Linked DNA regions of Homo sapiens: all the other regions are linked to region 1. The links are contacts of gene promoters, found by promoter capture Hi-C in human tissues and cell types (Jung and others, 2019). All regions are on one chromosome and are shown on one strand. The core of a region is centred on a gene start or on the middle of the fragment in contact, and the rest is flanking DNA. Distances in the headings are between cores, read along the strand shown. Region 1 holds the start of UNC119B (unc-119 lipid binding chaperone B). Region 2 overlaps P2RX7 (purinergic receptor P2X 7). Region 3 holds the start of OASL (2'-5'-oligoadenylate synthetase like).

What was found. The method cuts DNA at HindIII sites, captures the fragments that hold promoters and counts their contacts. A contact is called where the count stands out against the background at its distance.
Region 2: a fragment that was not itself captured here is called in contact with the fragment with the promoter of UNC119B in region 1 in 1 of the 25 tissues and cell types used here (dorsolateral prefrontal cortex).
Region 3: the fragment with the promoter of OASL here is called in contact with the fragment with the promoter of UNC119B in region 1 in 1 of the 25 tissues and cell types used here (IMR-90 fibroblasts).

Annotation. Positions count from the first base shown.
Region 1 is chr12:120,708,299-120,713,200 of GRCh38, reverse strand. It overlaps UNC119B (unc-119 lipid binding chaperone B), which reads right to left and starts at 2,743. Exons shown (of 5, transcript NM_001080533.3): 1 at 2,483-2,743. The coding sequence starts at 2,726. It overlaps LOC124903036 (a long non-coding RNA gene), which reads left to right and starts at 2,695. Exons shown (of 2, transcript XR_007063491.1): 1 at 2,695-2,764; 2 at 2,927-3,268. RefSeq lists silencers at 2,434-2,703, 2,794-2,853 and an enhancer at 1,984-2,826. The HindIII fragment of the contact is 6,851 bases long and covers 1,484-4,902 here.
Region 2 is chr12:121,144,174-121,149,075 of GRCh38, reverse strand. The region is part of intron 1 of P2RX7 (purinergic receptor P2X 7); the gene reads right to left. All of the region lies in intron 2 of LOC105370032 (a long non-coding RNA gene), which reads left to right. Among named protein-coding and RNA genes, the nearest start is that of P2RX7, 14 kb to the right of the region's middle. The HindIII fragment of the contact is 3,708 bases long and covers 1,031-4,738 here.
Region 3 is chr12:121,036,256-121,041,157 of GRCh38, reverse strand. OASL (2'-5'-oligoadenylate synthetase like) reads left to right here and starts at 1,912. Exons shown (of 6, transcript NM_003733.4): 1 at 1,912-2,384. The coding sequence starts at 2,187. RefSeq lists enhancers at 1,748-2,167, 1,747-2,246, 2,247-2,748. The HindIII fragment of the contact is 11,669 bases long and covers 1,840-4,902 here.

The DNA of each region.
Region 1 (4,902 bases), core at 1,494-3,993:
TGAAGCAAACTCAGATTTTTTCTTACACAACACACTTAAAATACTCCCAAAAACTTTCTCATGTGTTATCACCAGCAGAAGTTGTATGGACAGAATTAGGGGATCCAACAAAGAAAAAAAATAACAAGGACTTGCTTTGGATGAAAAATTGCAAAACTTTTAGAAACTAGGATAGAAAAGGTGGATTTCTTTGGAAACACATAAAAATCTTTCATCATCTATCAAGTTGGATGTCAGAACAGGGCGAACTTTTTATAGAATTCCAATCTAAGACATTTAAACTGACTTAGCAGATAATACAGTGCTAGTTTGCCAACGTTAGTTTGCCAACTGTCAGTGTAAGAAAGCCGAGATCAGCAAACTTTTCTGTAGAGCCAGATTCTAAATAATTTAGGCTTTGCCGCCACATGGTCTCTGTCACAACTACTCAACTCTATCATTGTAGCCACAAAAGCATCCACAGACAATACGCAAATGAATGAATGTGGCTATATTCCAGTAAAACTGTATTTATGGACACTGAAATATGAATTTTACATAACCACGTGTCTCAAGATTTTAAAGTTTTTTTCAACCATTTAAAAATGTACAAACCTAATCTTAGTTTGTGGGCTACACAAAATCATACAGTAGACAATACATATCATACATATCCAGGCAAGAGGATAAATCTGCCGGTGAAGACATTAGGCCCAAGTGACTAGAACATGAGCCGCAAATTGAAATAATTCTAATCACAGCAAATTTCACTGATTTCTTTCTAGGATGATTCCGGATAGCATCTTCTCCACAGCTCATTTTGATACTTGATCTTTTATTGCCTGAGTTAGTTGTTTTCGTGTTTTACAAGTTGTCTCTTTATTAAGACGACAAACTTGACAACTACTGATTATTCTGTAACTGCTAAAAAGGCTAACATTGGCTTTGGACTCTTAGAGGGTACTCAAATAATCTGCTGGATAGAATGAACGAGACGTTAAGAAGAGTAACAAAGAGGTTGCCAGACTCTAAGAAGCTGCAGAGGTGGGTTTGGACAATGAGCAACAATCCCAAGCCCCCAGATAGGATCTGAGTGCCCACTGAGAATCCTGCTTAGGGCCAGGCACAGAATACCCTAACTCACTTGGATGGCAGGAGAGGGCATGAGGTTACCAAGACCAGGTGCTGAGCATCTGTACTTTCAGAGCCCCAAATGAAAACTGGTTCAGAAGAAAAGAAGCTTTTTCACACTGTTTCAATAAAACTAACAAGAATGTCTAAAGATACGTTCAGGTCTGGTAAGGACAGTCTCAACCCAAACAGTATTGGGAAACGGGGGCATCCAAATATCTAGAATCAAATTAAAACTCTTTTAGGAAATGGGAATTCCCTTTCGCACAGGGTGGACCAAGGCCTACTCCCCCCAAATTTCCATCCCCAAATTACTAGAGCTGCAATCGGCAACCTGAGGTGCACCTGAACAGCCCTGGGCTGCCTGCTATAGCAGCTCAGCAGACACCATGGCAGCCTTCGATCCATCCAGGGAATGTTGCTGCTGCCACAGGGTTAGGAGACTGCACGCCAGGAGTGATGGGCAGGCCAAGATAGGCCTAACTAGGTGAGTGCACACTCCTGCAGGGAAAACAGCAGCAAGAGAAAAGACGTCAAGTCAGGGACTGGCTTGGCAGAGAACAGAAAAAGGGAGATCACCCAGGGCAGGGACTGGGCAACATTTTTCTTCCCACCCATCCTCCTATCAACGAAAAAGCTTAGGATGGTTGCCTTTTGTGCAGGAAACGCATTTCTGAAACTCTGAAATCATTCTTAATTCACGAGAATGTCAAAAGCAGGATTCACATGTCGGAGTCTGTACACAAACTGAAACTTTATTTTTGTTTTAATGTGGCACAGTTTTAAATGAGCAGGAAATGCCACGGCTATGTGTTTTGAGGAAGAACCCATCTGCACACTAAGGGGCAACGCTCCCGACCCAAAGAGGGAGGGAGGCCGGGCAGGCTGCAATGGGGGAGGGCTGCCATGGGGCCAGGGCGGAGGAAGCAGGTAAGGCTTCTGGCCTGCCAGAGGGCTGGGGGAGCCTGGCTGAGCGGGAACTTCACTGATGGCCGGGGGTTCCAGGCTGAGGGCCCAGGGGCCCATTTATTAGGGGACCTCGGCCCCCGGCCGGCTCAGGAGGATCCAGTTCAGCTGAACGGGGCCCTCTACCCAAACAGGTCCGGCAGAGCTGGGGAGCCGACCGGCCGAAGGGCATCCTAGCGTGGCCGGACTCACAGGAATGCGGTCCAGCCCAGGAGAGTCCTTCCCCACCAGAGCTACGTGAGCGTGGCGGGAGCAAAGCCCGGCCGGCGGGGCAGCGGGAAGCGCGGCCCGGCCGGCCGAGGGGGTCTGGCGGGGACCCCCGCGCTGGTCAAGTGGCCGGGTCCGCTGAAGGCTCCGGGAGCCGGGGCACGGCGCGAGGGGAGGGCGCGGCCCGCGCGGCACTCACTCTCGGTGACCCGGCTGAGGCGCAGGACGTGCTCGGGCCGGATGGTGTCCAGCGCCAGCAGCTCCTGCTCCGTGACCGCTGCCCCGACGCCGTCGTCGGCCGCGTGGTGGGGCGCCTGCCGCCGCGCCTTCAGGCGGTTCAGGACGCCGCCGCCCGCCTTCTTCTTCTCCTCCTTGCCAGCCACCAGCCCCCCGGGCCCAGCCGCCGACGCCGCGGCCGCAGCCTTCGGGTTAGACCCGCTCATCGCTCCGCCGCCAAGATGGCCGCCGCCTCCACAGCGCGGTAACTATGGAGAGCGGGGGCGGGGCCCGGGGCCCGGCGGGGAAGGGGCGGGGAGGGGGCGGGGCGGGGGCGGGGGCGGGCGCCCGGGGGGCTGTGGAATTCCCTTTCGCACAGGGTGGACCAAGGCCCACTCTCCCCAAACTTCCATCCCCAAATAACTAGAGCTGCCATCAGCAACCTGAGGTGCACATGAGCAGCCCTGGGCTGACTCCTATAGCAATTCAGCGGACGACACCATGGCAGCCTTCGATCCATTCAGGGAATGCTGCTGCTGCCACAGGGTTAGGAGACCGCAGGCCAGGAGTGATGGGCAGGCCAAGATAGGCCTAACTGGGTGACTGCACACTCCTGCGGGGCCCGGGGGGCGGTGCTTCGGCTACTGCCCCAACTTTGGTCCTGCCAGGTGGAGGGCCTAGGGGTGGCTGGAGCTTCAGCAACCCCACTCCCCATCAGACCCCCAAGATCCTCCACGATGTTTAAATACATATCTTACGGTCAAATGAATTTACGTCATATAAACTTTCCTCCTCCTCATCCTCCTCCTGGTCTGAAAGAGCACACAGAATCTTCCGTGCACCATCTCGGCATTCTCAATCCAAGAGTTCTGTCACCAGTCCCAACAGCACAATGGCAACTAATTCCCAGTAATCACACCAAGAAGAAGAATGGCCAGTGTTTACTGCGCACTTGCTATATGGCAGGACACTTGCTATAGGGCAGGCTCCTCACCTCACAACAACCCTGTGAGGTATTACTGTCTCCATTTTACAGATCAGGAAGCTCAAGTTCAGAGAAGTCAGGTAACATGTCCAAAGTCCCTCAAGCAGTAAGAGGAGGGAACAGGGATTTTAATCCAGGTCCATCTGACCCAAGGCCTGTTCTTCAACACTAAGCTATTAGTGGACAATGCATCTTGAGAAAATGTTTATTAATATATTTAGCATAGAAGGTAAGTTAAAGCAGTGTTTGTTTTGCAAAGGCAGTTTCAAGACAAACTTTCCAATGAGATTGCCATCCGTAAGCCCTACTGTGCCAGGCCCTGGGCTAGACATTGGGCTAGGCTACAGGAGATGTAAGAGTGAGGGCAGGGATTGGGTCTGCCTCACCCCTGAATTCCCAGCAGTTCAGCTAATGCCTGACACGTGGTAGGTGCTCAGTAATGATTGAATGAGAGCCTGAACAGTATCCCACTATGGAAGAGCTCCCACTTTTGTTAGAGAAGACTGTAAAGTACACAATTCATTATGTGACCCTTCCTTTTCACAAGGTAGGTTAGTATGAACTGGAAGACAAACTAGATTCACTGACTGCACTAAGAGATGCAGCAAAGGTGCTAGGAGAACACACAGGAGTGGTTTATTCTGACCTGGCTGTAAAAGCTTGAGGGCTTCGGAAGTTTTCAGAGGCAATATCTGCACTGAGCTTTGGAAGTTAGCCATGACCTCACCAATTAGCCAGAAGTGGGTCAACAGGGGGATGTGGTCTACCGTCTTCCACCCTGAGGGGCTCCTTCTCTAGGGATTCTAGATCTGCACTGTTCTGTGTTGGAGGCCTGGGCCTGATTGATGCAGTGTGTCTGCTAGGTCTGACATCACCTCTCAGCCAGGCTAGAGTAAAATTGCAACCGTCCCCCAGAGCCTCTTGACGTTCTTGCCAGGCCTTGCTTGCTGAGTCCCTCTCACCAAAGCCACCAAGACAGGCATCTCTTGGTTCCTGGACAAAGTCCAAACCTGACCCCACCCCAGCTGCCCAATTGGGTGGCATAGTGTGTGGCCAAATTCCTACCCAAATGCTGTACTGTCTTTGAGAGATTAGTATATGGTGGCATTTAACTAACTGTTCAGGGAGATTTTAATAAATGTGTACAAAGAATTAAAGTCTTTCCTTTTACAAACAACTCTTTTTAAACCACTCAACAGAGTGGTTACTGAAGAATTTCCAGAACTTTTAATATGCTACTTGATTGTGAATGGCCAAGAGGGTGGTTTAGCATGTGGTCATTTCCCATATACTTATTTACGGAAGGTTTGTTCTCATAGCACCAAGACTAGTTACCTGGACCATGGCTTTTCTCTTTCTAGGGATGATGGCAAATGTAACCTCTTCACCTGCAATTCCACATCTAGGAATTTACCCTA
Region 2 (4,902 bases), core at 1,635-4,134, 440 kb before region 1:
GTTAGATTGCTCTTCAAGCTCTGCAGGGAGGACCTCCCTTTCAGCAAAGTTCCTCTCCGTCTTACAGCCCCTGGGCTTCCAGCGCAAAGGTAACATCAAAGGGCTGAGCCTCCAAAGTGTATCCCTTGTATCTCTTAGCTCACACCTAAGCCAGGCCAACAAACATCTTCATGGACCCCTAAAGAACAGTAGCGCCAGGACTGTGCCTGCAGTGCGGCACAGAGAAGCTTGGCGTGCAGCCTCTGCATCTCTTATTTAAAATCCCAAGAGGAGAATCCGATCAGGTCCATCGCTGGTCCACCCGGCCATGGTGGGGGCTCAGCAAGGGGCGAGGACCCAAGAGATGCTCTGAGAAGAAAGTGGGGGAGAGCCAGCACCCCCAGGGCAAGTTTAATCCCGATTGTATTAGTTTCTGGTTGTTGCTCTAACAAATTACCACAAACTTAGTGGCTTTCAACAACACTAATTTATTCTTTTGCAGTTTTGGGGGTCAGACTCCTAAAGTCAGTCAAACAGGGTAAAAATCAAGGGTTAAAAAGAAAAAATATAAATTAAGATCACAGCTGGGTGCGGTGACTCACGCCTGTAATTCCAGCACTTTGGGAGGCTGAGGCAGGTGGATAATTTGAGATCAAGAGTTTGAGACCAGCCTGGGCAACATGGCGAAACCCCATTTCTACTAAAAAGGCAAAAATTAGCTAGGTGCGGTGATGGGTGCCTATAATTCCAGCTACTTGGGAGGCTGAGGTGGGAGAATCGTTTGAACCTGGGAGGCGGAGGTTGCAGTGAGCCAAGATCATGCCATTGCACTCCAGCCTGGGTGACAGAGTGAGACTCTGTCTCAAAATAAATAAATAAATAAATAAATAAATAAATAAATAAATAAAAAAGATCCCAGCCCAAGTCATTCCCATAGGCAATGGGAGTGTCTTCTAGATATCTCTTTATGTCCACACCTAGACACACAAATAGATATACTGATGTTACAAACGTGGCTGCAAGCTGTTTTGTAACTTGTTATTTTTGTTCAATAATATGTTATTAGTTCTTTCTATGACAGTAAAGATAGATCTGTGATAAAGATAGATCTATGATACACAGTCATTTTCAGTGGCTAAAGAGTATCTTAGTGTTTAAATTGAACATATGAAACGGCCCATTTTGGCTGGGCTCGGTGGCTCACTCATGTAATCCCAGAACTCTGGGAGGCCGAGGCAGGCAGATTAATTGAGGCCAGGAGTTCAAGACCCGCCTGGCCAACATGGTGGAAACCCCATCTCTACTAAAAATACAAAAATTAGCTGGGCGTGGTGGTGCACACCTGTAATCCCAGCTACTTGGGAGGCTGAGGCAGGAGAATCGCTTGAACCTGGGAGGCAGAGGTTGCAGTGAGCCAAGATCGTGCCACTGCACTTCAGCCTGGTGACAGACTGAGACTGTCTCAAGACAAACAAACAAACAAACAAACAACAACAAAAAAAACTGCCCATTTTGCATTTTGTAGGCCATAGCTATAGAATATAGGCAGTTCCATATGGTTCAAGCTAAAAGGTACATTGTGATAATTTGTCAACCAGCCTCTGGGATGGATATTTACTGGAACCTTTGTTCAATTTTCCCAATTATAAACATTTTTTGGTAACCCTAATATAGTCCTTACCATGTGCCAACCACTCTTCTAAGTCCATTTTGCTAACATATATTAACTCTTGCAATCCTTACTCTCCCCCACCAAAAACAAAAACAAAAACAAAAAACCAACTCTATAAGGAAGGTACTATTATTACCCCCACTTAATAGCTGAATAAACGGTGTCATGAATGAAGTGAGAAGCTTGTCCAAGGTCACATGGTAAATAGCAGCACCAGCTCCAAACACAGCCATGTAGCTTCACAGCCTCAGCTTTCTTAAATGCTACAGTGAATGGAATACTTTTTCGAATTTCCTTTTCAAATGTTCATTGCTGGTGTAAAAAAAACCCACACAATTAATTTTTGTGGTTGATCTTGTTCCTTGCAACTTGACTGAATTAGTTTATTTGCTCTAACAGTTTTCTTGTGAATTCTTTGGGATTCTCCCTATATGGGATTGTGCCACCTGTGACTAAAGATAGTTTTACTTCATCCTTTACAATCTGGATGCCTTTTATTGCTTTTTCTTGCCTAATTGCTCTGGCTAGAACTTCCAGTACAATGTCGAACAGCAGCGGTGAAAGCGGGCATCCTTGTCCTGTTCCTGATCTCAGGGAGATGCACTCAGGCTGTGCTCCTCAACACTGTGCTCACTGTCTGTCCATCCCGCATTCATGTTGCCAGGAATCCCTGCACAAGCTTCTTCTCACCCCTAAGACATTAAGTCCATAGGACAACTTCTGGGTGTGCACATTTTATAGCTGAGTTCATTTTCCCAAATCACAAAAACTTGAACCATTTCATGCTTCTATCAGCAAAGCAAGAGTGTGCACACTGCCTCTTCAGAGGGGCTTGGCCCGGCTCAGTGGCTCACGCTGTAATCCCAGCACTTTGGGAAGCTGAGGCAGGGGGATCACTGGAGGTCAGGAGTTCAAGACCAGCCTGGCCAACATGGTGAAACCCCGTCTCTACTAAAAATACAAAAATTAACCAGGCATGGCGATGTATGCCTGTAATCCCAGCATTCAGGAGGCTGAGGCAGGAGAATCACTTGAAACCAGGAGGCAGAGGTTGCAGTGAGCTGAGATTGTGCCATGCCCTCCAGCCTGGGACAGAGTAAGACTCCTCAAAAAAAAAAAAAAAAAAAAAAAAAAAAAGAGAGGCTTGACAAATAAGAGGATGGTCATGTGAACTTGGCTGGGACAGTAGAGGGTCGGGTCACCAGGCTGGGAGCACAGGGCCCGTAGGATGGGGGCTGTGAGTTTGAAGAAGAGGACAGACATAGTAGCAGCGTGCAGCCATTTGAAGAGTAGAAGAGGGACACAAGGCAGAACTCTAACCAAAGGCGAAAGTTACAGGGAGATAGATTGTGGCTCAGTATAAGGAAGAAATGTCTAACAGGGCAGTCCCAGAGCAGAACGAGCTTTCCTTGTGGTTGCTGCTGGTGATGGTGAGGAAGATGATGATGATAATTTTCATTTATCCCATCAACTTCCGTTTCTCTCCTGTCCCATTTCCATCTGCATTTAAACATCATTTCTCATCTTAAAAATGCCTCCCCTCCCCAGCTTAATCCATCCTACCACCACTCCATGCCTCTCTTCTTTATAGCTGAGTCCCTTGAAAGAGTGAGTCACCAGGCCGGGTACGGTGGCTCACGCCTGTAATCCCAGCACTTTGGGAGGCTGAGGCAGGTGGATCAAGAGGTCAGGAGTTTGAGACCAGCCTGGCCAACATGGTGAAACCCCGTCTCTACTAAAAATACAAAAAATTAGGCGGGTGTGGTGGCACATGCCTGTAATCCCAGCTACTTGGAAGGCTGAGGCAGGAGAATCACTTGAACCCAGGAGGCAGAGGTTGTGGTGAGTGGAGATCACACCATCGCACTCCAGCCTGGGCGACAGAGGAAGACTGCATCTCAAAAAAAAAAAAAAGAAAGAAAGAAGAAAGAAAGGGCGAGTCATCACATCCACTTCCGCATCTTGATTCACTCACTCCTCTACCCACTCTAGTCTGGCTCCCACCCCCATCCCTTCTCTAAAGCCTCTCTTGCCAAGTAAACAACAATGTCGTTGTCACTAAATCCAATAGATACACCATGGACCTGACCTTCCTGGAACTCTCAGCAGCAGTTGACACTGACTGTGACCATGCCCCACTTCCCTCGCCTCCTTCCCTTAGCTTGCAGGAGTCCACTTGTGCCTGACTTTCACTGGATCGCCGTGGCTACTCCTCAGAATCTTTTGGGGACTTCTGCGCTCCCACGCCTTAAAGGTTAGCACTCCTTTGGGGCGTGTTCTAGGCCCTTTTGCTTTCTCATCTACATCTTCTCTTGCTGGTCGGTTGCACCTTCTTCCAGGGTTCTGGTTGCCGTCTATATGCTGGTGATATAGAAACCTACATCTCAGCTGCAGATTCGTATATCCAACCATCCATTCAACATCTCCATTTGTACATTCCATAGACACCTCAAACTCAATGCCTTTAGTCCTGACCTCATCTTCCACCCCAAATTGGCTGTTTCTCCTGCATTTCCTATCCCAGCAAGTTATTCCAGTACCCATCAGTTGCCCAAGCCAGAAGCATGGTGCACTCTTTGACTCATCCTCTCCTTCTTGTCCACTCACCCGTTCAGTTGCCAAATCCTACTGTTTCACTTCCTAATATGCTCAAATTCATCTACTTCTCTCCTCTGCCTCTATCACCTCCCCAGTCCAGGTCGCCAACAGCTCTCAGATCTGGACATCCCAATAGTCTCCTAAATGCCCTCCCTTCCTCCAGTCTCACCCTGTCCCCTCTACTCTCTACACTGCAATACTTTAGTGAGAGCATAGACTTTGGAGTGAGGTTCAGTCTCAGCTCTATTGCTTACTGACTACATGACCTTGGGTAAGTGACTTAATCTTTCTGAGTCATTGTTTCTTCTTTTGTAATAAGAGGATATTAGGGCTGGGTGCAGTGGCTCATGCCTGTAATCCCAGAACTTTGGGAGGCCAAGGCGGGTGGCCCATTTGAAGTCAGGAGTTCAAGACCAGCTTGGCCAACATGGTGAGACCCCATCTCTACTAAAAGTACAAAAATTAGCCAGGTGTGTTGGTGCACGTCTGTAATCCCAGCTACTCAGGAAGCTGAGGTAGGAGAATCGCTTGAATCCGGAAGGTAGAGGTCGAAGTGAGGCGAGATCATACCACTGCACTCCAGCCTGGGCGACAGAGCGAGACTCTAACTCCCTTGCAAAACAAGAGGATATTAGTATTCTATTGGGCAGGGT
Region 3 (4,902 bases), core at 663-3,162, 330 kb before region 1:
TACTTCTCAGCCTCTATGCTGTACCCTCATCCTCCTGGCTGGAGTGCCAGTCTTTTTTATTTTTTATTTGGAGACAGAGTCTCATGCTGTCACCCAGGCTGGAGTGCAGTGGCACCATGATAGTTCACTGCAGCCTGAAACTCCTAGACTCAAGTGGTCCTCCCACCTCAGCCTCCCAAGTAGCTGGGGCTACAGGTGGACACCACCACACCTAGCTATTTTTTAAAAAACTTTTTGTTTTTAAAACAAAAACTGGAGTTTTAAACTCCAGGCCACCACTGCCTCTCACCTGCACCACTGTGCAGTGTCCTGACCATCTCCCTACATCTGTTCTTGCCCTTGCAATCATCCTCACCACAGAAGCAGAGAAGTTACAAGTGTGGCAAAGGGCAGACCGGAATTCAAAGCCAATGTGGAGTGGGGAGTTGGATACATGAGTCTGGATTTCAGGGAAGAGGTATGGATTTAAGATACAAATGTGGGAGTCACTGGGTATGGTGGCTCACGCCTGTAATCCCAGCACTTTGGGAGGCCGAGGAGGGCAGATCAGGAGTTCAAGACCAGCCTGGGCAACATGGTGAAACACTGTCCCTACTAAAAATACAAAAAGTTAGCCAGGCGCGGTGGCGGGCTCCTGTAATCCCAGCTCCTTGGGAGGCTGAGGCACAAGAATCGCCTGAACCTGGGAGGCAGAGGTTGCAGTGAGCCGAGATTGTGTCACTGAACTCCAGCCTGGGCGAGACAGTGAGACTCCATCTCAAAAATAAACAAATAAATAAAAATAAAATTAAAATGTGGAAGTTGCCAGAGTAAAAACATTTAAACGCTGGCTGAAATCACCAAGGGAGTAAGTCTAGAACAAGAAGAGAAAAGGACCCAGGACTAAGCCCTGGAGCACTTAATATTATTCAGAGTTTGGGAAGTTGCAGGTGTCCAGCTATGTTGCCCAGGCTGGTCTTGAACTCCTGGCCTCAAGTGATCCTCTCACCTTGGCCTCCCAAAGTGCTGGGACTACAAGCATGAGCCACCATGCCCAGCCCGGATCCCCAGTCTTTAAGATTCCTCTCAAGCAGGTGTCTGCTAACACCAAATGAAACTCATCTGCCGGCTTCATGTTTTCATGCTTTTTTCCTACTTAACTCATCGCACTGGACTTTTGCAGTCTCTTTTTTCTGTGTCTCCTCCACCGTTCTGGGAGTCCCCTTGGAACAGGAACCTCATCTTATTTTGTCTTCTTGGCTCAATGCATGAACTTCTTGGTTCAGTGCGTGAATCATAATACCTGTTAAACCCACTCTATGGGCCGGGCGCGGTGGCTCACGCTGTAATCCTAGCACTGTGGGAGGCCGAGGTGGGCGGATCATTTGAGGTCAGGAGTTTGAGACCAGCCTGACCAAAATGGTGAGACCCCCGTCTCTACTAAAAATACAAAAAAAAAATTAGCCGGGCGTGGTGGCACATGTCTGTAGTCCCAGCTACTAGGGAGGCTGAGGCAGGAGAATCGCTTGAACCCGTGAGGCAGAGGTTGTAGTGAGCTGAGATTGCACCACTGCACTCCAGCCTGGGCAACAGAGCAAGACCCGGCCAAAAAAAAAAAAAAACAAAAAAACAAAAAAACCCACTCTATGAATAGTGAGGGTCAAAGAGGTTAGAGTCTGGCACAGGTAGACTAGAATTCCCAGTCTGTTCTCTTGGGCTCCAGATTCTCACTCCACCACCTGAACACTAGTGAGTCCCTTCCGTTCCCAAGCCTCAATTTCCTTAGACAGATGTAAGCAGTTGAATTGACTAACAACTATCCAACCCCAACCTACTGGGCAAGTTGCCTCCTTTGGGGTCAAACACTATCCAACTTCAGTTTCCCAACGTCATAAAGGAGAACTCTAAAAGTTGAGAATCGAAACTGATGACAGATTGACTAGACGGCCAGCCTGTTAAGGTGGCCCCAGATATTCCAGCCTCAGCCCAGAGTCCTCCTGTGCCCCTACTGCAGCAAGGGTGTCTCCAAGAAGGGGGACCTGGAGTCAGCCCGTCACACCTGGTTTCCTCTCTGCTAGGGTCCCTCCTCCCACAGAGCACTGGAGGGCAGCTGAGGAGGAGCTACCTTAAAAAAGGAGGTGTGTGCCAGGGAGCTGGGTAGGAGCCTGGCTATATATCTGCCCAGCAGCGGTACTCTCGGGACAGAGATGGCACTGATGCAGGAACTGTATAGCACACCAGCCTCCAGGCTGGACTCCTTCGTGGCTCAGTGGCTGCAGCCCCACCGGGAGTGGAAGGAAGAGGTGCTAGACGCTGTGCGGACCGTGGAGGAGTTTCTGAGGCAGGAGCATTTCCAGGGGAAGCGTGGGCTGGACCAGGATGTGCGGGTGCTGAAGGTAGTCAAGGTAAGACTGGGCTCCTCCAGCCCCCACGCAAGACAAAACCCAGTATCAGAGTCCACGTCCCTGGGGATGCTGGGGACCCCTGTCCTCCTTATCCCTAGCCCATGCTGATGACATCTCAGAATACCCCATCCCACCTAGCTGTCTACACCCCACTGCACCACTGCCTTGAGTAGAATGAGTCTAGTAATAATAGCTCACATTTGGGGGCTCACTGGACTAACCTCTTAACATACACTATCTCTAATTCTTGCACTCTGTGAGATAGGTACTATTCTTTGCCCAGTTTACAGATTAGCAAATGGAGGCTCAGAACCAATACAATGCGAGGTCCTTGGTTGGATCCTAGTGTGAATGAACCATCTGTAAAATATAGTTTGGGGACAACTGGCCTAGATATCAGATAGTACATATATCTGATATGGGAAATCATTGTTGATTTTGTTAGGTGTAACAGTAGTTTTGTGGTTATCAGAAGGTTGTCTTTTGTTTGGACACGAACACTGAAGTATTTTAGGGACAAAGTTCCTTGGTGCCTATAATTTACTTTAACGTGGCTTAGATTAAGCACATGTAGCCAGGAATTTAGACTTGTTGAATCAACTAGTTGGGTATATGAGTGTTAGTTGTATCATCTATTTTTCTATGTGTTTTAACTTTTTGATAATAAAATGACTTTTTTTTTTTTTAGAGACAGGGTCTCGCTCTGTCACCCAGGCTGGAGTGCAGTGGCACAATCACCACTCACTGTAGCCTCAATCTCCCTGAGCTCAGGTGATCCTCAGCCTCCTAAATAGCTTGGGATTACAGGCATGCACCACCATGCTCAGCTAATTTTTGTATTTTTTGTAGAGATAGGGTTTCACCAATGTTGCCCATGCTGGTCTCGAACTCCTGGGATCAAGAATATGCCCACCTTGGCCTCCCAAAGTGCTGGGATTACAGGTGTGAGCCACCATGTCTGGCCGGCCAATAAAATGATTTTTGTTTTTGTTTTTTTTTTTTTGAGACAGAGTCTTGCTCTGTCACCAGGCTGGAGTGCAGTGGCACGATCTCAGCTCACTGCAACCTCTGCCTCCCAGGTTCAAGCAATTCCCCTGCCTCAGCCTCCCAAGTAGCTGGGACGACAGCGCCCACCACCACGCCCGGCTAATTTTTTGTATTTTAGTAGAGACAGGGTTTCACCGTGTTGGCTAGGATGGTCTCGATCTCCTGACCTCATGATCTGCCCTCCTCGGCCTCCCAAAGTGCTGGGATTACAGTGAGCCACTGCACTCGGCCTAAAATGATTTTTTAATGGAGGCTCAGAGAGGTGAGGTGACTTGCCCAAGGTCACACAGTGTTGAAGCTGGGATTTGAACTTGACTCAAGGGACCCAAGCCCCCCTCACTGAGATTTTCCCCCAAGCCCTTCCTCCAGCTGTTTCATGCCACCGCCTGTGCTAGCTAAGATCAAAATTCAAGAGGGTCGGAGCTAGAAAGACTTTGGAGAATCAGACAGTCTCACCAATGACTCACTTAAAAAATTAAGTAAACCGAGGCACAGAGAGGGTGAGAGATACCCCAAGGTCACACAGCGAGTTGGTGGCAAAGGCAAGACTAGAATTAGGACCCCTGACTCCCAGCCCAGTGCTCAAGTTCTCTCTCTAGGGGCAACCAACTCACAGAGGGATCTAGAAGCCCTGGGCCCCTATCCGTTCTTTGCACCTATCCCCAGCATATGAAGCCTGAGGCCATACAATTTATAAGTGAGAAACCACAAATTTTGATATTAGACAGACTCTTCGCTTCTTCCTTTACCAGCTGTGTGGTTTTGACCTTCCCACTCTTCTTTCTCAAACCCACATTCTTTTCATCTGTGATTGGGGCATCATCATCATCTCTCCCTCACCAAGCCAGTGGTGCAATGCAGGCTGAATGATTCATGCACGATAAATGCTCAGAAACAGAAGCATCATTATAATTCTTGCCAAGCTTTCTTCTGGGCCTGGGACTCAAGTCTGACTCTGGCAGACCCTCCTAGACCACCCCCTCCCCAACAAACTTGAGAATAAAGTGGAGGGAATAAGGAATGTCTGGTAAGAGGAGGATGCTACAAGAATAAGTTTATTGTGTGTGTGTGTGTTCCACCACGCCTGGCTAATCTTTGCATTTTTAGTAGAGACGGGGTTCCATCATGTTGGCCAGGCTGGTCTCGAACTCCTGACCTCAAGTGATCCACCCACCTCGGCCTCCCCAAATGCTGGGATTACAGGTGTGAACCACCACGCCCGGCCAAGAATGAGTTTTTACGGCAGGAAATGCTATTTACCTAAGCCTCAAATACTTCCTGCACATCATAGCCACTTTTCCTCTTGAAACCACTAAATGGTAGCAATCCCCAGTGAGCCATGACTAATGAGGAATAATATATCTTATTTAGAGTCTAAACCCTCCCGTTCCCCACCCTCTGAAAATCTAGTGAGCGGAGCTGGTCCACATAAGGGAATGCTCGTCTTCAAATGAATTGTGCTTAAATAGGT